Linked DNA regions of Homo sapiens: regions 2, 3, 4, 5 and 6 are each linked to region 1. Evidence: promoter capture Hi-C in 16 types of primary human blood cells and fetal thymus (Javierre and others, 2016). All regions are on one chromosome and are shown on one strand. The core of a region is centred on a gene start or on the middle of the fragment in contact, and the rest is flanking DNA. Distances in the headings are between cores, read along the strand shown.

Region 1 (3,938 bases), core at 1,045-3,544:
GGTTCAACCTTGACCCTGGGATTCTTTCACAGACTATCAGATGGAGACAGAGATCCAAAGTCTTGGCTTTTACAATCTCTCTTGTTTTATCAACTTCCCAGAAGAGGATCCAAGCATAGGCCATGGGATGGAGGGGTAGGGTCTCTGGTCTGGCTATGAAACCCAAACTGAACCAAACAGGCTTTTCTTATGGGCTGGGAGCCCAGGAGCATCTAGTTGACATTAGGAAAAAGGACCAGCCCTGTTTCTGGCAACACTTGGGTCAAAGTGAAATCTATGCTAAAAAGATGATGCTTAATGTAACATGAAAGATGCACACACTCCAACCTGCCTAGATGTTTCTAAGGCAGCAACTCTAAAGGTAATTCAAAGCCCACAGATAATGGAAAACCCACCAGGGACAGTTGGACTATTCCTCCCCCTATCCGTCTGCTCCTTGCTATGACCATTTTATTTATTTTAGCCCTATCTCAGATGTACACACACACATTAAATAGCCACTGCTGACCAGAGAGGGACAAAATTAACTTTACAACTATTTTTACAGAGATGGAGACTCAACTAAAGCAACCCAGTACCAACTGGGAGATGCAATAAATAAGTTTCCATTTGGCTACAGTGGCTCTCCCAGGACACACACAAGAGCCAGCTTCCATACTGTCCTTCTCAGGTGCTATGAGGGGACACACCACAGCTACACAGATTGAATTTGTGAATCCAAACAGGTCTTCATATCTGTAGACGCCCTGAAAATCGACCTGCTCTAACAGCCTCCAAACAATTCACACCTGCTCCTGGCTGCCCAATGTCCTGTGAGAACTCTCTCCCCAGGTGGACTAATTTAAGGGCACTCTCACCCAGACCTGGTTAAAAATCCACAGCAGTCACCAGGAGGTCTAGTCCCTCCCTGGAAGCCCAGCAAACCCATAAGCATCTAAATGGGGTATCAGAGGAGTGGAGATGATGTCATGGGTCTGAGAGCAGGAAAGGCTGCCCAGTGGGCTGTGAGGATGCCCAGGACCAGGGACATCAAGGAAGAGAGGAGATATCCCTTTAACGCATTCATAACTCCAAGGCACAGCTAAGAATGAAGTGAGCCTCAACTTAGCAAACCCACAGGCCACCAAAGACACCTCGACAGCCAAGCTGCTAGAAGCACTTGGCAAAATAGGGCAGCTATTGGACATGTGGATGGCACAAACACCAGGCAGGCAAGATTCTGCTGAAGAAAGTTCACTGGGCCCTGTCACCCACATTCTAGGCATCAGATGCCCAGAAATAAACGTCAAGGGGCCAAGGGCGGGCCCAGTCCAGGAGGGACAGCTGACAGCTGTGGGCGGCGGGCAGGGGCAGAGGAGGAAGGGCTCCCAGGCTGGAATTCGGATCATGCCCACATCAGCAGAAAAGTTCCTGGGAACAGCACGCTGTCTGGAAGGGAAAGAGGCTTGCTGCGGTCCAGGCCCCGGGATGCACACGCGGTGGTGATGCCAGGTTCAAAGGGCCGCCGGATGAAGCCCCGTGTCCTCTCCCAGGGCCCCTCGCCGGTCAGGGCGCCCATCGCGGGGCAAGTAGGGTGGTCAGACGTCTTAAATAAAGCTTCGGTTCCCAGGATCAGTGGGGAAAAATGAATTCCCAGATCCGGCCTTGCTTCAACTCACTTTACCCAAACCAAACAGTCCCAGAGAGGAATGAAAGGAAGCAGCTTTGCTACTCCCTCCGCGGTGCAGGTGGGGAAACTGAGGCACGGAGTGCACGCCAGAGACTCGGGAAGAGGCCCAGAGGAGGCTAACGCAGCCGCGCGCGACCAGGCGTCTGGGAAGATGAGACCAGGGAAGAGTTCTCTCCTCTCCTCTCCTTTCCTTTCCCCGCCTCCGTTCCTCAACACACACAACACACACACAGCCACACTCGAGCTACGCCCAATCGGGGCAGCCGCCGGGCTCCCCAGACCCGGACTGCACACAGAGCCCCGCCCGCGCACACAGCACAACACGACCCGGCGCGCACGCCCACACAATAGGACGGCTCGCACCCCGCGGCGGCCCCTCGGCAGGGTCCGGGCCAGCCCGGCGCCGGGGTCCGCCCTCCGCGCTCACCCACGCCCGGAGAGCGGCCCGCGCCCGGGAGAGGACGCGATCGCACCCGGCCGCTGCGCCCCGCGCCCCGCGCCCCGCGCCCCGCGGGAAGTTCGCCGGCCGCCCCCCGACTCACCCGCGGCGCTGCTCAGCAGCAGGCACAGCGGCCCCAGCAGCCACATGGCGCGGCCGCCGCTCCCGCTGCCCGGCGTCGTTGCTGCCCCCGCGGCCTCGGCGCTGACCCCGCCCCTCGCCGCGCCGTCCCCGCCCTCCCGCCTGGCCCTCCTCCCTCCCGCCTTCCCCGGGCCCGGCCCCGGCCCGGCTCCGCTAAGTTTTGCAAGCGCCTGGGCTGCGCGTGGCCACCCGCATGTTACCCTGGGTGTCCTGACTCCGAGGGGCCGCCGAGCGCGGCGGAGGGTTCAGCCTTTCGGTCTCTCAGCCTTTCAGCCTCCCAGGTCTGGCCGCGAGGATCTTCTAACAGCCTGGGCTCTGTTCTCTGCTTCCTTTTGTCCCTCTCATTTCTGCCTTTGCTTCCACACCCAGCGAGATGCAGCGCCCAGACCAAAACTTGAGTTCTTTACTCAAACTACAAAGTGAGTTTACTACCGAGAGAGAAAAAGTTAAAATAAAGGGTCAAATCTTATGAGAAAATTGTAGTATATTTTTAGTAGCGAGTGTGGAATACCAGTGCTTCTCAAACTTTAATATGCATCCGGCACACTTGACGATCTTGTTAAAATACTGACTCTGGTTCAGTAGATCTGGCGTGGAGCCTGAGATTCTGCATTTTTAACAACATGGTGGCTGATTCCAAGGCTGATGATCCGGGAGCCACCGGTAAGAGCAGCTGACACCTACCATGCACACAGCGTGGACCACATGAGTTATTTTGTCTGCATAGTGTCCACCTTGACCTGTTGAACGTTTGGGACCCAATTTGGAAAAAATAAAATTAAAAAAAGGAAAAGGTCATGAAAGGCAGATACCCAAATGCAAAAAATATAGCTGCACCAATGCACTTGCTTCCAGAGGGCACTGGTGAAAAGCCCCAAAAGACTTAGATGGTGGAAGAAGGGGATGACACTTCTGTGCTCCACTCTCTCTGATCCCCCACCCAAAAAAAGCAAAAGACTAACGCAAATAATTGCCAAAAACTGGAAACAACTCAAGTGTCCATCAATTGATAAATGGATCAATAAATTAAAACTTTTGGGGGCAGTGGGACTGTTCTAATCTTGATTATAGAGGTAGTTACACAACTGTATACATTTGTCAAAACAATAGAACTGCATCCCTAAAATCCACCCCTCAAAAGGGTTGAGTTTATTTACACAAACTCCACCTGGCTGAAAGAAAGGGGAAGGTATGGGTACAGGGGCAGTTATAAAAGGGATGCCTGCGTCAGATTTTGGGATGCCCTGGAGACACCCTCAAGGGTGTTAAGATTCAATTACTTTACTCTGTAATTGCGTGCTGTAGTCTGGAAACATAAAGGCTAAAAAGGATCAGGTCAAAATTTAAAAATACCAATGATTGTTCAAGGTAATGAGAAAATGTGATGTGAGGGAGGAAAGGTTAAGTTCCATAGTTCATAGTACACATGGAAAATATAAATCAATTATCTAAATGATTTGGCATTCGGGGCTTTTATCCTGGGATTGATGAATATTATGGAGATCGTCCCATGGGCTTCAAAGAATTTTAAAGCCCTTAAAATTTTATGCAAAATGTCCTGTGCATGTGGGTATGTGCATTGTTCCGGGAAGCTTGTTGGGAAGAGGCCTCCTGCCTTTGATAATAATATCTGAGGAGGCAAATAAGCAAATAATTTCTCCTACAGCTGCTCATTTGCCTCCAAACATT
Region 2 (3,938 bases), core at 672-3,171, 460 kb after region 1:
TCCATTAAACCTCTTCCCTTTACAAATTACCCAGTCTCAGCTATGTCTTTCTTAGCAGTGTGGGAACAGATTAATACAGCCTTGTAGGTAGGTAAGCTAGGTAAGGAATTTAGATGCTATTGCAAGTGCAGTGGGGAACCAAGGAAGAGTGGTGAAGTAGAGGATGGACCAAGTGCTCTGAGAACTAGCTAACAGAACAGTTAATGACAGGGAGAGGGAGGTAAGGTTTCAGACAGGAAGTGAAGGTTGAGCTATGCCTTTGCTCTTCAGTTGGCAGAGCAGGAAGATATTTCAGGGAGAGGGATAGTATGGTCAGGGTGTGAAAATGCAAGGTGTGTTCAAGGAAGCATGTGACATGAGGTATGATTAGAGCAAGGTGATGGTCTTGGGGTGGCAAGCCCTGACTATGAAGGGCATAGTGTTCCAGGGCTCAGAGCTTAGACATGGTTCTGAGATGAAGGATGGTTTAATCTGGGGAGTACCATTTGACAGATAACTCTTGTAGCATAACTCCGCTGGAGTGGAGGAAGACCATATCCAAAGGTAGCCATTAGGAGTGCGATTGCAGCGCTTCAGGGGATGAAGAAGGGAGACTAGAGTGAGAAGAGCTTAAAGGAAGGAGTGACAGGACTCAAGACTCACTGAAGAATGGGGTAAGGAATCTCAAGAGTTTGCCTTTCAAATTCTTAGTTTGATTAACTGTCTAGAAGTTGATGCTGTTAAGTGAGTAATAAAAGGGAAGAGGTTTGGTGGGGGAAAGAAGGTGAGTTCCACATGAGATAAGCTGGAATTTGGACATCTATAAGAGACTCTGCAGACAGTAGGAAATAAGTGCCTGGAGCTCAAGAGAATTTTGGAGACTTGAGATATGCCTATGGCTGTTATAGATGGAAGCATGAGGTGAACAGAGCACCATGGGCAGAGGAAATAGCAACAGATGTAAAAGGAAAGGAAGAGAAAACCAGGAAGGAGATGGGAAAAGATAGAGAGATAGGAGGAGAACCAGGAAGGAGTAGGGTTCTGGAAGCTGGGGGCAGTGTTTCAAAGGCAGAAAGGTCACATAGGATGAAGGCAGTAAAGAGGTTTTTGTGTTTGATGGCTAGCATGCGATTGGTGACCTGAGCAATAGCAGTTTCATATAAAATTTGGCAGGGCGCAGTGGCTCATGCCTGAAAGCCCAGCACTTTGGGAGGCCAAGGCAGTGGATTACTTGAGCCCAGAAGTTCGAGACCAGCCTGAGCAACATGGTGAAACCCTGTCTCTACAAACAATACAAAATTAGCTATGCCACTGCCACTCTAGCCTGGGCAGAGTGAGACAGTTTCCAAAAAAAAAAAAAAAAAAAAAAAGGCAAGATTTGAAGTGTGAAAAATGGACAAAAAGAATACAGACAACTTTCTTTTAAATAAGCTTAATCAAGCAAGGAAGGGGAGAATTAAGGTGATAGTTTATATGAGTAAATAAACAGCTGTGGAAAAATACCAATTAAGATGGGAAAGGCCGGGTGCAGTGGCTCATACCTGTAACCCCAGCACTTTGGGAGGATGAGGCAGTCAGGTTACTTGAGGACAAGAGTTCAAGGCCAGACTGATCAACAAAACAAGATTCTGTTTCTACACAATATTAAAAAAATTCAGCCAGGCATGGTGGTGCATGCCTGTAGTTCTGGCTACTCAAGAGACTGAGGAGGGAGAATCGCTTCTGCAGCCAAGGATTTTGAAGCTGCAGTGAGCTATGATTACACCACTGCATTCCAGCCTAAACAACAGAGCAAGACCTCATCTCTGTCTCTCTCTCAAAAAAAAAAAAAAAAAAAAAAAAGATGGGAAAGGGTTAAACAGGTTTTAAGCTAATGTGAGTAAAGTGTCAGTAGGAGAGATTAAAAATATTACATATTAGAGTAAGACTAACTGAAGAAGTTAAGACCATGTTATCCTGAAGGAGAAGAACTTCCTATGAGATCAAGAACAAAAGTGAGAGTTAAAGGAGAGGGAGCTTCCTTTTCTGTCCTAGGCTGAGACAGGAGGAAAAGAATTATTTATAGGTAGCATATCTTGTTTGTTAGTAATTATATGGTAGGAACTGTGCTGAGCACTTTATGTGCCATGTCTTGTTTCATCTGTACAATCACCCTATGAAAATACATACTCCCATTTTATAGATAATGAAACTGAGGCTCAGAGCTGTGAAGTAACTTGCCTGAGGCCGTACACTTTGGGGTAAAGCCCAGGACGATTCCAGACCCCTTACTCTTGTTCTTAACCACAGTCCTAGTCTGCCTCCTGCTGGTGAGTTCTCCCGTTTTCTCTGGGAAGTAGGGAGTGAAATATCTGCTGAGAATGAGTAGAAGTGAGGTTGGGGCTTGAAAGTACCAAAGGTTTGGGGCAGCCACTTGAGGAACAAGAAAAGGCACCAGCTGGTGTTAAGCTTAAAGCATATCCAAGCGAGACGGAGGACCCAGTCGAAGCCAGAGTTCCTAGGGAGGTGATGCAGTCAGTTAGGACGTTGGCTGATGCTCTCTGGAAGTGCAGCAGCAGAAGGGAGTAAAACCAGTTGTTTTGTTGATCCAAGAATAAGCTGAGACATGACTGACCAAGGATCCCAGCTGGGAAGGACATGAAATCAGAAAGAGCCTGGTAGAGGGGCAATAGGGACAGGAGGTCTTAAGTGGAAAAGCAGGCTTGGTGGTAATGAAGTAATGGAACACATAGGTGGAATGGGTATTATGGTCAGAGAGTAGAGTTTCTAAGTTGAAGCTTTCAGGGATGGTGGTGATAAAGTGTTCAGTTTTTTTTTTTTTTTTCTGGGTAACTAACAATCTCAAAGGACAAATGTTTGTTCTTTCTCATGGGTCTGTGAGTTGGCAGGCATTCCACTGATTTCAACTGGGCTGACCTGGGCTGGTTGTGCTCCAGGCTGCAGGGCTTAGGCAGAAGGGACAGCAACCATCAGGGGATGCTCTTCTCAGGGTGGGTCGCAGAAGCACAAGAGGTCAAGCCAAACACACAGGTGCACATAAGGCCTCTGCGCACATCACACTCACCCATATTCCACTGGCCAAAAGAAGTCACATGGCTAAGTTCCCAATGAGTGAAGTAGGGAAGTATATGCCATCCCAAAGGAAGAGGGGTGGATAAATATTTCTAAACAATACTTCAGTCGCTCCATGTGAGTAAGGGGGTTTGTTCAGGGTGCAGGGGACAGGAAGGAAAGAATATTTGCATGCAAGAAGTCAATACAGCAAATGGTAACAAAACAAGGATAGCAGTCACCCAAATGTTATGAAACAGAAAATATTAATATTCAGAAATCCTGAGCATGTGTCTTTTTAAATAGCACCTACTGGTCAAATCTTGGGTTGCACCTTGGTGTAAGACGCTGTTTATGGAGCCTCATTGATTGGGCTGGTGATTGTGTCCATTTGAGGGTCCAGGCTTTCTCAAGGACAGCAGAACTGGCTCAGAGCAACCAGTCTATCACCTAGGCAGGCAGAACAGAGAGCTCACACCTTCGTGCATTAATCTACCCATCCAGTCAAAAGATATTTCTTGAATGGATGCTTCTAGGTGCTGGATGTACAATGATAAGCCAGACGGGCATGGTCTCTGACATCTTAGAGCTTGCGCTTTAGAGAGGAGATTTTTTTTAAAGTTAAAAAAATAGAATGTGGTCAATGCTATGAAATTGAAAAAACAAACTAATGGTCAGATTCTATCCGATCTGTGTTGGTTCAGTTTTGCTTGTTCAATTACGTTATGCTTGTTCTGAGAGCCTCATTCCACACAGTGTATGTTACCACTGCCATGAGCACTGATGGAGCATTTCTTATGGAGCACTGGGCTGGTCACCAGGGAACACAATGATTCCGCAATGAGTTTACAATCCATCTGTGAAAACAGTGCTTGACCATAAGAAGACATCAATATGATGTTATTAGG
Region 3 (3,938 bases), core at 502-3,001, 360 kb after region 1:
TTCAAACCAAATATATATTCTTCTCTCCTGCCTCTTATTTTTGGAACCCAGAGCTGTCTCCCAGGAGGTGGCTTGCATTGTTAAGCTCCAGAAAGGGCAAAGTAACAGTTCCATACTCCCTTTGCATTTGGTAGTGAATAGGATGGAAACTATCCCCCAAATATCTGTTAGCCCCATGTCAAATGGATTGGTGAAGACCAGTTTTGAAGGTTCAAGAGAGAGATGAGAATTCACACTACGGGACAGGCCACTTCAGAAAGTCTGAAAAGAATGGGACAGCAAAGCTTTCCTGAGCAATGAAGAAATCTTTCTCCCATTATTTATGCACACTGCTTCACTGTTCCTTCTTTCTTTCTTGTCATACAATAGAAATAATGATCTTGGTACCAGACCCTGTGTTGTGCGAGGACAATTAATCACCCACCTAGTCATTTATTTCCTCATACTCTTCCCCACCAGGACCATTATCCTGTAGGTAAACAGAGGTGCCAGTAAATCACGGACAGAACACAGGTCAGTGGGAGAATGGTTGATTAAGCGTCTCTATAACTTAAAGTTATGTAGTACCTCTCATCCCAAAGGATCTCCAAGCACCAGATAGACTGATGTACGCACTGCTGCAGAACCCCTCTATTTGTCACTTTCTACACCTTTGCGTTAGGGGGCTGGAATGTTTATTGCCCTTTTCAGGCAGTTACCCTAGAAACTGCAGTCATGGGTAAGACAAGAGGAAAAGGAAGGAACTTTTCACTTTCCTGTCCTTTCAAGCAACAGAAATCAACTAGCAATCAGAGAGTAACCTACCCATCCTCTTGGGCAAAATTTCTTTGGTTCATGAAATGCTGCAAATATTACACAATTCCATGTTTCTTCTTTTTCTAAAGAGGGCAGCAACTGAGTAGGCATTGAGGTTGAGTGGTGAGTGTGGACAAGATCTAAAACAAGTATTTCCAGGGTAAAAATATTTAGGGTCTACTAGAATCATAGTCTAGGGGGAAATCACTGTTTGAAAATCTTCATGTTAACTCTGCCCCTTAATCTTTAGTAATAAATGGAGCCTTTTGAAAGAAAAAAGCAATTTCCACTTTTCCTCCCAGTGTTTACTTAAATTGTTTAATTATAATGCTACTTTCAAATTTATCCTTATGGCTCTGATATATATATAAAACCAAAAACAAGTTAAATTATATAATTCAATACAAGTTAAATTCAAACAAAACTACAAAGCCAATTTAACAACCTTAATTTAATGGGAAGGATGATGTTGTTTTGCTGAAACCAAATTACCTTTCAAATGAAAACATGATATTGACTGCTGCCTCATTAATTCTTTTAAATTTGGCATGTCTATGCTACTGGGTGCCATGTGATGACCCATTTTTCCACAATTTCTCTTTATTTGAACTACTATGGAAACTGCCTTTGTAAAGTATACGTATACTATCAACTTATTTGGCCTTAATTTGTGTTAACCCAACATGTCTTTGCAAAGCTTACATCTGTGCCACTGGAATAAACAAGGCCACTGGATTCCTGTGGTATGATTTGATCATGAGTCATTAGAATTATGCAGAAGATAGTAAAACTCAATTTTAAGACTATGATCAAAACGAAGACCTCCAATTAAAAAGATCCTCGTAAAAAATTTTAAGACTCCCCTTAGGGGGGCCTGTGGGAGCCATGGACCTCACATTAAAACATACATACCCAAAGACATTAGGTTTAGGTCAGTAGTAGGTTTGAAGTTGGAATCAAAGCAAAATTCTGGGCAAAAAAAAGAAGCCAAATAAAATTAAATGATTACATGACAATACAATTCATTACTCAATAGAATAATAGACTTGAGTATGGAATCTTGTTATAGGCATGTCCGAGACTGCTATATGTCCAACTGTGTCTGTTCTCTCCTTTTCTCTTTTAGTAAGAAAATTCTCCCCTACTCCATAGGTGCTTTCAGGCATCATGGCTAATCAGCTAGAGGCCACATTTCCCAGTCTCCCTTGAAGCTTGTTGTGGCCATGTGATCAGCTTCTTGTGAATGGGAGCTTGAGTGTAAGTCTTTCACATCTACTCTCTTTTCCTCTTCTCTCTGGCTGGTACTTGGATGTGGCACTGCTGAATCAGCATCAGCCATGCAGCACCACCCTAAAAAGATCTAGAGGAAGAAAATAAAAGAAACCTGGGTCCCAGGATATCCTGGCAGAGCAGAGCTGCCAACCTCTCCTCCTTACCACTATTCTGTTGCATTAGAGAGACATAAACCTCTTTGCTGTTTAAGCCACTATATTTTGAGGTCTCTTTGTTACAGCCTCTGAATCTCTACTTTAGCTGATAGGGGCAGTGGTAGTATAAGATCCTGTTCCACTCATTCAACAAAATAGATTATGTGCTTATTGTATGGCAGGTGCCAGAGAAGAAGACATTTATTTGAGATTGCCCATTTAGTTAATGGTGAGCTGGGGCAAAAATACAGGTCTTCTGACTTCCAGCCCAACACTCTTAGAACTTCATGCTTCCTTCTCATCTAGCTGTGTGGCTAATGCTTCAACTATTGCAATTAATTAGGGGAGGGCTGAGTGTTCCCAGAACTGAGTGTGACCTGGTAGGCTTTACTCTCACATGGCTTCTTAGACCCTTGTTTGTTTGGGGTTTTATTTCCTGAAAGGAAAAAATAATGATAGTCCAAGACAAATTAGAGGAGTTACTAATACAGAAGAAATGTTTATTCATCACTGCAGGACCAACCCTGTCCCCTGTGTATAGAGGGATGTACAGAGCAGCTTACAGTATTGGAGGGATTGGGCTTGCCAGCAATAACATTGGTAGGGAAAGGCAGAGGCTGGAGTATGTAGTCTAAGCCAATGTTCATGCCAGGGGAGAAAACAAACTGGAGTCAGGTTAGGTCGACCTGTCTTAATGTTCCAAAATAGAGTTTGTGGGACAAGAAAAGAAAGTAGCTGAAAACATGATTGGACATACAAGTAATAGATTTTCTTCCTCCACCCTCTAAAAGTAATTCTTTATTGGATCATCTTGTTTTATTTTCCTTAGGGTATTATAATGATCAGATATTTTCTTCTTTTTTTTTGTTCACACTTTTATTGTCTATTTTACCTAAAACAAGATATTTCCATGGCTGTGTAACTTACCACTGATTCTCTAGTGACTAGAAGAATTAGACTCTTAAAAGTATTGTTAGGCTGGGCGTGGTTGCTCATGCCTGTAATCCCAGCACTTTGGGAGGCCAAGGCGGGCAGATCATGAGGTCAGGAGTTCAAGACCAGCCTGGCCAATATGGTGAAACCCCATCTCTACTTAAAATACAAAAAATTAGCTGGGTGTGGCGCCTGAAGTCCCAGCTACTGAAGAGGCTGAGGCAGGAGAATCGTTTGAACCCAGGAGGTGGAGGTTGCAGAGAGCCAAGATCACGCCACTGTACTCTGGCCTGGGCGACAGAGTGAGACTCTGTCTAAAAAAATAAGTATTGTTGGGTGAATAAAAGAAGAAATGAACAAGCGAATGAATAGGAAATGTGACAACACAGAAAATGACCTACATAAATCAGGAAACATAGCACAGTTCTGCTTCTTTGGTGACAATGTAAAGATCATATATTGTCAATATAGACAAAGAAATACTATGCTGTTACCTCTTAGAGGGGGAGCTATCACTCTGCAATACTCTTTTGCCCCCTGACCCACTGCTGCCAGAATTTTCATTGTCTTATGCCTCTATGCTGGCCATAGTATGCTCCTTGCAAACCTCTACTACGGGGAGTGTACTTGACCAAGAGCCCCAGGCACTGCACTCTGAAGTCCATTACTGTGTCTGTGCTGAGGCTGTGCTCCCAGTCAATGACCAGTGCAGCAGGGCTACTGGGGCAGACCTTTTCTAGGCAACACAGGAATCCTCCCATGCCAGCTTTGGCTTGAAGTCTT
Region 4 (3,938 bases), core at 850-3,349, 310 kb after region 1:
CATAAGGGGATGTACTCAAAGGGAGAAGTCACTGGATATGGTGTGAATATCATGGGCTTCAGTAGCAGATAGACTGGGGTTTGGATCAGCACTAATTAACTACGTCACATGGGGCAAGTTGCTTAACCACTCTGTGCCTGTTTCCCCATCAATGAAATAAAGAGGATTTTTAAAAATCTGTCTTCCTTTGGTCACTTATTAGCTATGTAGGCTGAGGTAGATCAACTTTTAGTGAGCTTTAGTTTCCTTATCTGCAAAATGGGCAGGAACAATTCCTCTCTCTAAAGGTTGTTGTGAAGATGAGATAAAATGTAAATAGTAGATGGTAGGTACTCAATAATTGTTAGATATTACTATTTTGAGGCTGGTGTGGTGGCTCATGCCTGTAATCCCAGCACTTTGGGAGGCCGAGGCTGGGGCAGATCACAAGGTCAGCAGTTTGAGAACAGCCTGGCCACTATAGTGAAACCCCGTCTATACTAAAAATACAAAAATTAGCTGGGCATAGTGGCATGTGCCTGTAGTCCCAGCTACTTGGGAGGGTGAGGCCGAAGAATTGCTTGAACCCAGGAGGCAGAGGTTGCAGTGACCTGAGATTGCGCCACTGCACTCCAGCCCGGGCGACAGAGCAAGACTCCATCTCAAAAAAAAAAAAAAAAAAAAGATATTACTATTTCAAGCTACCTTTTACCCTTTTGATGGTAGATGGGGTATAAATAATTAGAATGTATGTACAGAAAATAAAGTTTAGACTCAAATAGGAAACGTCTGTGTTGAGTGTATCTGTGGACCTTTTCACTGTCATTTCTGCCAGGTTGTTTGAGCCTGATACCACTTCTCACCTTGCCTTATAGAAGGCAGAAGTCTTTCATGATCTGATTTGTTCTCTCAGCACAATGTTGTCGTTAAGCAAGATGCCCCTGGAAACAATGACCAGGGATGAAAATCATGGCACCTCAACTTCCAAGTCTTATAATTTTGAACAATTTCTAATTTTCTTTGTACTTCAGTTTTCTTTTCTTTTCTTTTTTTTTTTTTTGAGACAGAGTCTCGCTTTGTCACCCAGGCTGGAGTGCAGTGGCGAGATCTCGGCTCACTGCAAGCTCCGCCTCCTGGGTTCACACCATTCTCCTGCCTCAGCCTCCCGAGTAGCTGGGACTACAGTTGCCCGCCAGCATGCCCATCTAATTTTTTGTGTTTTTAGTAGAGACAGGGTTTCACCATGTTAGCCAGGATGGTCTTGATCTCCTGACCTCGTGATCCACCCGCCCCGGCCTCCCAAAGTGCTGGGATTACAGGCGTGAGCCACCACGCCCGGCCTTCAGTTTTCTTATCCATAAAATGGAGACAAGAATTGCATCTATCAAAGAGATCATGATTAAATTCATGCGACAGATAATACATGTAGTAAGGTGCCCAGAATAGTATGTGGCACAAAGTAAAGTGTTAAATAAATCTTAGCCATTGTTATTAACCACAAGCTTTCCTGTGCAACTGCCACAGTCAGAGGCAGAGAGGCAGCGGCATGCTGCAGTGGCTCATACTGGCTCAGGAGAGTTGATGTGTGCATCTCTTCCCAACTCTGCATTCAGTGACATCACATTTATAGCTTGAAACTGGCCACAGTGGGAATGTTTACACCATGGAAATTGGCAAACATTACAGATCAACCCCTGTCCCCATCCCCTACCCAAAGCCAATTGTTAAACATTCACTAAGATACTGCTGAGTGCAAGAGAACACACTGCACCACTGAATCTGCTTTTCCACAGCTTCAAGGCTGGGTGAAAACAGGGGTCCCAGTCAGGTCAAAGGCTACTACCCAGTTAAACAGATGGGAAGAGGCAGATACTCCTCTTCTCCTGACCATGCAGTCTTCACCCCTGTACAATGCATTAGGTGAAATAACTGTTGTCATGGGACAATCATTCCAGACATCATTTCCAACCCTCCTACTACTTTTTGAACGCTTTCTTTAATCAGGGGTCTTCAACCGTAAGCAACAGAAACATACTCTGGCAAACGTAAGCAAAATGGGAATTTAATGGCAAGAATGAAGGCACTTAAGATTTGAAAGGAAGTTTGAAGTACGTAGCTTGGAATAGACAGGTCCCAGACAGCTGCAGAACTTCTGATTGCAGGCACTCCCCAACTGTCTCTCCAGCTGGACAAAATAGTTAAGAAGCAACTTTTTTTTTTTTTTTTTTAGACAGAGTCTGACTCTGTTGCCCAGGCTGGAGTGCAGTGACACGATCTTGGCTCACTGCAACCTCTGCCTCCCGGATTCAAGCGATTCTCTTGCCTTAGCCTCCCAAGTAGCTGGGACTATAGGCACGCACCACCACGCCTGGCTAATTTTTGTATTTTTTAGTAGATATGGGGTTTCACCATATTGGCCAGGCTGTCTCTAACTCCTAACCTTGTGATCCACCTGCCTTAGCCTCCCAAAGTGATGGGATTACAGGCATGAGCCACTGTGCCTGGCCAAGAAGCAACTTCTTTAAAGAGAGAATCCAGGCCAGGCACGGTGGTTCACGCCTGTAATCCTAGCACTTTGGGCAGATCACTTGAGCCCGGGAGTTCAAGACAAGTCTGAACAACATAGCAAAACCCTGTTTCTACCTAAAATAAAATACAAAAAATTAGCTGGACATGGTGGTGCCCATCTATATTCCTAGCTACTCAGGAGGCTGAGGTAGGAGGATCACCTAAGCTTGGAAAGCTGAGGCTGCAGCGAACCAAGATCATGTCACTGCACTCCAGCCTGGGTGATGGGAGTGAGACCCTGGCTTAAAAAAAAAAAAGCAGTTGCCATAGACCTGTAGGGATTTGCTACTGATTCTTTCCCGAATCAATTTCTTCACAAATTCCTCAAAAGCAAAGCCACAGAAACCTGCTGTTAAGGGAGGTCATCCAGATAGTACAGAAAAAACAAAGCCATCGTCTACAGAGTTGTTATAAACAACAATAAAAAGGAAGTACAAAAGAGGATAAAACCAGCATTCTGAAATTTGTCACAATGCAGGACAGAAGGAAAAGGAAATCCAAACAAGAAAAGGCACACCAAGGCCCCACAGTATTTCTGACAGGTTTACAAAAGACTTTCCTGAGTGCTCAGCTGGTACCCAAAGAAATGTACAGGGACCTGGGAGCAAACAAATCACCCTATGATGTCATCCCAAGAGTATAGATCCCTTGGGATTCTGTGGAGCTGTCTTCAAAGCCATCATCACATTAATCACCCTGGGCAGGAACGGGAGAAACTGGAGGTGAAAAGGGCAGATTAAGTTCTTAAGTCTTTCCCCAGAGAATGCCACATGTGAAGTGCATGCCCATGAACTCAGTAAACTCTGGGATTATTCAAGCTAAAGGCAGGCAGTTCTTCCTTTGAGGTCATTGTTTTCTGCAGTCTGATAGGCTTTGGGTTGTTGTTGTTTGTTTGTTTTCACAGATCTATGCTGCCCTCACATTCTGTGAAACACTATGGACATGAGGGTTAGTTTCCATGATCATCTCCTTTGCAGAAATGGACCACAAAACGTTTCCCACTATGGGGACTAAGAAGGTAGAGTGATCATTTGTTGTGGTTAGGGTCACTCAGCATCTATTTCTTCAAGAACATCTGGTTTTCTTTGGAAAAGTACCCAGTTGTGGTTAATGTCGTTGAGTCCTATATCTAGTTCTCCCATACATGGTTCTCTCATACATATTCATCATGCCAAAGAGTGGGCATGTGATCTAAACTCAGGACTTCCAAAGTGCCAGGATTACAGGTGTGAGCCACCATGCCCAGCCGGAAACTGCCTTTGATAGAATGGATCATGGGAGGAGAGTCATTACATAATCTTCTCATGAACTATATAGCACAGACAACGTTGGTGCCTTTAAGTAGGATTATTAAGCACAGAATGTTTTTACTACATGTATTAGTCCATTCT
Region 5 (3,938 bases), core at 493-2,992, 290 kb before region 1:
CTGTTTCTTTCAGACCATATAATGCCCATGGTTACATTGTCTGAAGCTTGTAGTTGTCTGCTATTTTCTTATGTATATTACAAATTGTACCAGCCAGTTGTGAGTCCCATTCTTTGGTGGGGGTTTACAGCAGATATATTGGTATTTGGTCTACTACCAGACTCTTTCCATATGGGAATTTTCTCTTTCCCACTTCATGTAATTCAGGTGGGGCTGTCAATCAAGGGACTGAGACCCACTCATAGTAGTGGTCACATGACCAAGAACAACCAATCGTGAGTCCGTTTAAAGGTTTCTATAGATGCTAGGAGAGAGTGCCTCTCCTGAGACTGTGAACCTGGGTTTTCTGGACTCTCTTTTCCATGAGCAAGCAGGGCTGAGAAACTGGCAAGGGAGGAACAAATTCCTAATGAAGGCTGTTGAGCAGCTGGATCCAGGTCTGCTTGAACCCAAAAGTTCCATAATCTTGGACTTGGTTGCTTTAGACAATATATCTTCTAAAATTTAATGCAATTAATCATGTATGAGTCAGATTTCTATAACTTACAACTAGGAGTTCTAATTAATGTCCTATGAACTTGTTTAGCTGTAGGATGTCAAGGGAGTCAGTATATTTTCTCACTGACCTTTTCCCTAAGGGTCTCACTGGGTGCATAGTTATGTACACTCATACACTTCCACTGCAGCCACCTGAATCTCTTTCTCATTCAATTCACTCTTAGAATCTACTGCTTTGCCTGTGGGTTGCAAGCTCAACGTAGAAAATGGACATACCACGTCACTCACTCCCATGGACCTTCTCTAAAAGACAGATTCCTGTAATCCCAGCACTTTGGGAGGCTGAGGCGGGTGGATCATGAGGTCAGGAGATCGAGACCGTCCTGGCTAACACGGTGTAATCCCGTCTCTACTAAAAATACAAAAAATTAGCTAGGTGTGGTGGTACACGCCTATTATCTCAGCTACTTGGGAGGCTGAGGCAGGAGAATCACTTGAACCTGGGAGGCAGAGGTTGCAGTGAGCCGAGATTGTGCCACTGCACTCCAGCCTGGGCAACAGAGTGAGACTCTGTCTCAAAAAAAAAAAAAAAAAGACAGATTGCTGTGTGAGTTCATGACCTTGAAGAACTCCCAGTAAGAGTAGTTTTTTGTTTTTTTTTTTTCCTAGGATTGCTATATTGAACCCAAATATTTAGGATTTCATTAAGAAAGCCTCTCTTCAGCTTAATCCTGTATCTTCTTATTTTGGAAGAGAACTAATAGGGGCCTTGAATTGTCTGCTTCATGAGTTTTTCTATTTTTAATTTTTTTTCTTTTTTGAGACGGAGTCTCGCTCTGTCACCCAGGCTAGAGTGCAGTGGCTCGATCTTGGCTCACTGCAAGCTCTGCCTCCCAGGTTCATGCCATTCTCCTGCCTCAGCCTCCCAAGTAGCTGGGACTACAGGTGCCCACCACCACGCCCGGCTAATTTTTCTTTTTTTTTGTATTTTTAGTAGAGATGGGGTTTCACCATGTTAGCCAGGAAGGTCTCAATCTCCTGGCCTCATGATCCGCCCACCTTGGCCTCCCAAAGTGCTGGGATTACAGGCGTGAGCCACCACACCCGGCCTATTTTTAATTTTTTGAGATTGGTGTCATTTCAAGGGTTCTAGTACTCCAAGCCATTAACACAACTGTTTCTTCTCTTCAGTGTCCTTAGCTTTACATCTATGAACCCAATGTGGAAGTGATCCTTTAGATTACTGACAAACCACAGCCCACAGGTCAAATCCCACCAGTAGCCTGTTTTTGTAAATAGTTTTCTTGGAACACAGCCACATCCATTCAATTTTGTATTGTCTATAGCTGCTTTTGCAGTTGCTACAGAAACCACACGGCCACAAGCCAAAAATATTTATTCTCTGGCCCTTTAGAGAAAGTTTATCAACCCCTGCTCTAGCTGAGTATTTTACAATCATTGCAAAGCACTAGCATCCATAAAAAATGCTCATCTTGGCATCCATAAAAATGGTATTCATGGCTGGGCGTGGCAGCTCACGCCTGTAATCCCAGCACTTTGGGAGGCCGAGGTGGGCGGATCACGAGGTCAGGAGGTCAAGACCATCTGGCTAACACGGTGAAATCCTGCCTCTACTAAAAATGCAAAAAAAAAAAAAAAAAAAAAAAATTAGCCGGGCATGGTGGTGGGTGCCTGTAGTCCCAGCTACTCGGGAAGCTGAGGCAGAAGAATGGCGTGAACCCGGGAGGCGGAGCTTGCAGTGAGCTGAGATCACGCCACTGCACTCCAGCCTGGGCGACAGAGCGAGACTTCATCTCAAAAAAAAGAAAAAAAAAGGTATTCATAAGGTACCTCGAGGGATGATGAAATGAGTAACTTGACAAATCTTTGGGGCTTGGGAAAGTCTACTCTACATCACTTGGGGCAGGGCATGACATAGCATATATTTGGGATACACATGCCTGACAGCCCAGTCTTCATTTGAGGAATCTGGGATCAATACATGATCCAAATCTTGGTACTGTGGGTCTTGCATTTGGATTTCCATGTGGATTTCATTTCGGCCAGGGCTGGAGTTACTGTCCCTGTTCATGATGGTGGTGCTGGTGACCTATGGGGCATCCTAACTTCCTTCCCAGGCAGATGTCCCTGCTGCATTGGCCAACATGTGGCTCCAAAACTAGACTTAAAAAAGCATAAAGATGTTCCCATCATTGATGGGGACAATCTGAGCCATTTGTGTTTTGAAACTAATTACTAGCCCACCTATCCAAGAGCTATAGTGTGCTCCTGAATATGTGGTCAGAATCTGTTACAGTTATCACAGCTACTTGTCCTTTTCCCTTGAACAATGCTGTAGCAAAGGCAGAAACACCCATCTTCCAATATGATTTCCCAGGGCCCATTACATTAACTGGTGTCCACAACTTTGCCTCTGTATTCCAATCATATCAGCTGCAGAATCCTGAAGCATCCATCACATTTTGAGGTCCCACCAACATATTCTTCCTTTTTCTCATTTTATTATGGCATAAATTCATTGCAAAAGCTATGACAGAAGTGACTGTCCACTGTTTATATTGCTATAAGGGAAATGAGTGGGTCAAGGACCATTTGCACAAACAGAAAGAATGAAACTGCAAATTTATTAGAAAGTATAAAAATTAAAAAACAAAACCAAGCCTAACCAAAACACAAAAAGCAACGACACACAACCTTTCCAGTTTACATTAACTTTGAGCGTCACACACTATTAACCACTTAGTTGCATTTTTTAAAAATGTCAATTTCAAGGTAGAGGGAGCTGAGTCAGGTAATAGGCCAGTCATCACAGTGTAACTAATTTAATGCTAAAATAAAACACGGATCTCATTTGAGAAAAAAAGAGATGAGACTATTTTCTGGTTGGCGTAGATTTAGGCAATGTATAAAAAAGCTTCCTGGTTGGAATGAGTTAAAAAATATTGCTGGCCACTAATGTGCCATCTTGAGTTGGAAAACAAACCCCCTCCCCCCCAAAAAAACCCTGCCGCTTTGGTGTCCTATTTATATATTTTTAAAAACATTCATTAAAAAAATCAAATCTATAATAAAAATGTCCCTGTTTGTTTTAAAAAAGCATTAGTAGGCATCCCTTATCTACTAAAACCATTTGTTTTTCCTAAGATGCCTGGAAGCAGAAAAGCGAGTGAGATTAACTCACTGCGCAATTAATTAAAATTAGAATTCTTTCCTCTAAACAACTTCCAGAGCACCAGAAAGAAGAAGGGGCCCCATCAAAGGGAGAAATAAAGCCCTTCTGACTCACAGGAGATGAAATGTTCAGCCAGAGTTCTAACACATTCTGGCTGTCATCAAAAGTTCTTTATTGGATTACTCAGAAAATAACTCAAGTGCTATTTTAAAAATGAAAGATACAGGCAGCTAGGTTCCTTTCCGTT
Region 6 (3,938 bases), core at 976-3,475, 270 kb after region 1:
CAAATCAGAAAGCAAAGTTTTGTCAAAAGGAAATGAAATTAAATTTTAGTATCACCATCCCATGTACGAAAATTTTTACCACCTCCTTTATATTACTTCATTTTCTAACTCCAAACCCACTCCTACACTAGGCCATCACTTTTAGTTGTCAGACTCAAAGTCATTCTTGGGTCTGAAAAAAAATCCATCAGCAAGTCTTTTTAGGCCGAACTCTAAAATATATGCCATATCCAGTTGGCATGTATTCTTCACTATCGTATTGTCCACTATTCCCAACCTGGTACAAGCAGCAATACCGCTCCCACTCTTGCTACCCAACAGCCCATTCTCCACATAGGAACCAAAGAGAAGTTTTAAGAATATAAACCAGATCATTTACTCCCTTGCTTAAACAGTCTATGACTACTTAGAATAAAACCCAAAATCCTTACCACAGCCTACTTGGTAATCTGACCTCATCTACTAGTCAACCCCTACCCCACCACTACTGATTATACTCCAGCCATTCATTTTATCCCCTTAGTAAACTTGTTCTATCTCAGGGCTTTTACACTTGCTGTTCCCTTCAGTTGAACCACTATGTCCCTAGAGCTTCTCATCACTGGCTCTAACTACACCCAGGTCACTAGTTCAAAAAGTCCTCAGATCCTTAAAAAGCTTCCCTCTCATTCCCACATCCCAGTCACTCCCTATCTCCTTCCCCAGTTTGTTTATTCACAGTACTTATCATTATTTAAAATATCACTTATCATTTAACTTCCTTACTGTCTGTTTTGCTCAAAGATTATAAATTCCATGACTTAGAGTTGCTTCTTGTTGGTTCCCTACTGGCCAAAATACTCCACCTGGCAAATTTTAAGCCTTCAATAAATATTTGTTGAATGAATAAATAGACCAAAAGAAAAGAAATGCCACTAACTTCGAATAATATATAAAATTATCTTAAGAAATACTATACCTCAAAGAATTGTGGTAAACATTAAATGAAAGAATATGCAGAAAGTTTAGAGAAGCAGTACAAGCTAAGTTCTCAATAAATGTTAGTTATAATTTCTGTTGTTATTATTAATTAAATAACAATACATTGAGTGACTACTAAGTATCAGGTATTGACCTAGAGAAGTGCTGAATAGAACAAAATAAAAAAAATATTTTACTAATTAAAATTATATATAATATATAGAAAGAAGACCAAAGAGAAGGGGAAAATAGTTTTAGGATATTCAGAAAGTATTCATCTATTAAATGCCTTCATATAGAAAATAAACATAAGGATAATGTGTCAGTACAACTTAGATTAAATATGAGAGGGAGTAATCAAATTTGTAGAGGCAAAATGGAATGGTGGAAAGAATATGTACTTTGTCAGGCCTGGATTCAAATCCCAGTCCTTACGCTTGCTAGCTAAGTAACTGTCAGCAAAACTTAACCTCTTTTGAGTTTCCTCATACATAAAATGGAAAACATAACAACATAGCTAATTGTGGAATTTTATTAAGGATCAAATGAAACAATATATGAAAAGGACCTGGCCACAAACCACTCAATAAATGACAGCTATTTGTTATTTTTCTCATATCTCTGGAAATTCAAACAAAATTCAGCAACAGACAAAATTCAACAACAGTCTCAAAACAACAGTCTCAAAATTCAAAAACAGACAAAAACAGTCTCAAAATTCAACAACAGACAAAGGTTTCTAGACTCTTGGTTTTATAACCTCGGCCAAAGATTAGCATTTTCATTATTTATACACATGAAGTCAGAGTCTACCAATCAACACAGGTTAGAGCCTGCCAGGGTTCACACACACTCAAAATTCACAGAGGAAAATAGTATGGGTGCCTATATAAACTTAACCTTACATCTCTCCCCATGACTGCCTACTAGAAAGAAAATGAAGGCTATTTTCCAACCAGAAAGTAAAGAGTATCTTGTCCCCACCTCCCCTCTGCTTCTATAAAAACTTCCCACAGTTCAGAATGTAAAACAGAATCTAAAGAGGACAACCAGCAAGACTTGTGAACCTAAAATTAGACCTACCAGCTGTGTTTTGGTTAGCTAGTGCATAAGGCACCAGCAGGACACTGAAATATACAGAAGCCTCTTCTCCAAAGACAAGTTTTTCTCCAGCCTATCTACCCACCAGATTAGAGCAGGCAGAAGGAACAGAAGGAGAGGGGGATGAACAGTTTGCACCCAAGAAACTTGGTGTCCAGAGCTTCTACTGCTGCCAGACTAACTTGTCTGGAAAGGAACTCAGAATAGAACCTTAGATGGCTTTATAACAGTAATAAGAATAAGAGCAACCCATTGCTGAGGGCTTATGATATTCCAGGCACTGTGCTAAACTCTTTACATCTATGATCTTGTTTGTTCCTCATCATAACTCAATAAGGAGAAACAATTACTTAGCTCATGTTACAGAAGAAGAAACCAAGACTCAGAGGCTGAGTGAATTACTCAACATTATACAGCTAGTAGGTGGAAGAGCTAAGACTCAAAAACAGACTGCAAAGCCAACTGGGTCAAAGACTGTTTGGTCCTTCAATATTCTTCTCCCATTTTTCCTTAGTAAAAGAACCTCAGCTTTTAGCTGCACACGCTGTGGCCTGGAGAAATGACTGTTTCCCAGTCTCCCTTGCAACTAGATAAGGCCAGGGTATTGAGTTCTGGCCAATGAAACATAAGCAGCAATGTATATAACTTCTCGAGAGTTCCCTTTAAAATAGAGCAGTGTGCCCAGCCAGGTGCAGTGGCTCATGCCTGTAATCCCAGCACTTTGGGAGGCCGAGGTGGGTAGATCACGAAGTCAGGAGATCGAGACCATCCTGGCCAAAATAGTGAAACCCCGTCTCTACTAAAAATACAAAAATTAGCTTGGCAGGGTGGCAGGCGCCTGTAATTCCAGCCACTTGGGAGGCTGAGGCAGGAGAATCACTTGAACCCGGGAGGCGGAGGTTGCAGTGAGCCGACATCGTGCCACTCCGTCTCAAATGAACAAACAAACAAAAATAGAGGGGTGTGCCCTTCTTCACTTTTCTATGTCTGTCATTCTGGAACTTGGACCTCCAGCAGTCATCTTGGCCCATGACACAGTAAGGATGTCAGAATGGAGCTGAAAAGAGCCTAGATTTCTGGTAACTTCATGGTTCTGCCACGCCAACCTTAGACTGCCTACACCCAAAGTTATTTTATGTGACAGAGAAATAAACATCATGTGGGAGTGGTTATTTTGGATTTTTCCAAATTATTTCATTATTTTAGATGCAGTCAAATTAATCCCAATGTAAACACTGATCTACAACAACTATGCAATACTCTCTCAGTTCTTCATTAATGCCCTGGAACTAGACAAGATTATTACACTTCCTATCACATACTTCATGTTCATCTACCATCCAGCAGGCACTGTGCTAGGTGCTGGGAATACAAAGATGAATAACATATAGTTCTAGCCTTAAAGAATTTATAACCCACCAGGGAAAGACATGGAAAGAAATAACATGACATAGTACACAGTATTTAGTGCTACAATAAATGTTCACAGGCTGTTATAATGGGAACAAAAGGATACCTCAAAGCCTGTATCTACCTAGTAACACCCTACCCATCTTTCAAGGCCTACCTCAAAGACTCCTTCCTCTAAGAATCTATTCCTGGCTCCATGCCCTCCAGTGATATCAATTTCTCTTTTCTCTCCACTTCCATAGCATACTGTTTGTACCTTTTCTCTAATACACACAAATAAGCATGTGAAAAGATTCTCTTTCCTATTAGGCTGTAAGCTTCCTGAAGTTAGAAACTTTGCTTATTCTTCTTCGTATCCACCACACAGTTCACCATAATAAGTGCTCCAAAATTATTCAGATGAATAAAATTAGTTTAAGAAAATAAAATATCATTCTCTAAAATGAAAGCCAGCTATATGTTATAGT

Evidence for each region. The method cuts DNA at HindIII sites, captures the fragments that hold promoters and counts their contacts. A CHiCAGO score of 5 or more calls a contact.
Region 2: a fragment that was not itself captured here is called in contact with the fragment with the promoter of LDLRAD3 in region 1 in 1 of 17 cell types (endothelial precursors); the score reaches 5.4 in endothelial precursors.
Region 3: a fragment that was not itself captured here is called in contact with the fragment with the promoter of LDLRAD3 in region 1 in 1 of 17 cell types (endothelial precursors); the score reaches 5.1 in endothelial precursors.
Region 4: a contact is called between a fragment that was not itself captured here and the fragment with the promoter of LDLRAD3 in region 1, in 1 of 17 cell types (endothelial precursors). The highest score is 7.3, in endothelial precursors.
Region 5: a contact is called between a fragment that was not itself captured here and the fragment with the promoter of LDLRAD3 in region 1, in 1 of 17 cell types (endothelial precursors). The highest score is 5.6, in endothelial precursors.
Region 6: a fragment that was not itself captured here is called in contact with the fragment with the promoter of LDLRAD3 in region 1 in 1 of 17 cell types (endothelial precursors); the score reaches 5.8 in endothelial precursors.

The regions. Positions count from the first base shown.
Region 1 is chr11:35,942,418-35,946,355 of GRCh38, reverse strand. LDLRAD3 (low density lipoprotein receptor class A domain containing 3) reads right to left here and starts at 2,294. Exons shown (of 6, transcript NM_174902.4): 1 at 2,212-2,294. The coding sequence starts at 2,257. RefSeq lists a silencer at 1,944-2,383. The HindIII fragment of the contact is 2,245 bases long and covers 1,599-3,843 here.
Region 2 is chr11:35,486,081-35,490,018 of GRCh38, reverse strand. The region is part of intron 3 of PAMR1 (peptidase domain containing associated with muscle regeneration 1); the gene reads left to right. Among named protein-coding and RNA genes, the nearest start is that of PAMR1, 38 kb to the left of the region's middle. The HindIII fragment of the contact is 1,017 bases long and covers 1,413-2,429 here.
Region 3 is chr11:35,582,113-35,586,050 of GRCh38, reverse strand. No RefSeq gene overlaps it. Among named protein-coding and RNA genes, the nearest start is that of FJX1, 34 kb to the left of the region's middle. The HindIII fragment of the contact is 514 bases long and covers 1,495-2,008 here.
Region 4 is chr11:35,631,789-35,635,726 of GRCh38, reverse strand. No RefSeq gene overlaps it. Among named protein-coding and RNA genes, the nearest start is that of FJX1, 15 kb to the right of the region's middle. The HindIII fragment of the contact is 1,232 bases long and covers 1,484-2,715 here.
Region 5 is chr11:36,231,323-36,235,260 of GRCh38, reverse strand. LDLRAD3 (low density lipoprotein receptor class A domain containing 3) reads right to left here. Exons shown (of 6, transcript NM_174902.4): 6 at 3,125-3,938. Among named protein-coding and RNA genes, the nearest start is that of COMMD9, 56 kb to the left of the region's middle. The HindIII fragment of the contact is 3,387 bases long and covers 49-3,435 here.
Region 6 is chr11:35,674,626-35,678,563 of GRCh38, reverse strand. The region is part of intron 1 of TRIM44 (tripartite motif containing 44); the gene reads right to left. Among named protein-coding and RNA genes, the nearest start is that of TRIM44, 14 kb to the right of the region's middle. The HindIII fragment of the contact is 3,131 bases long and covers 660-3,790 here.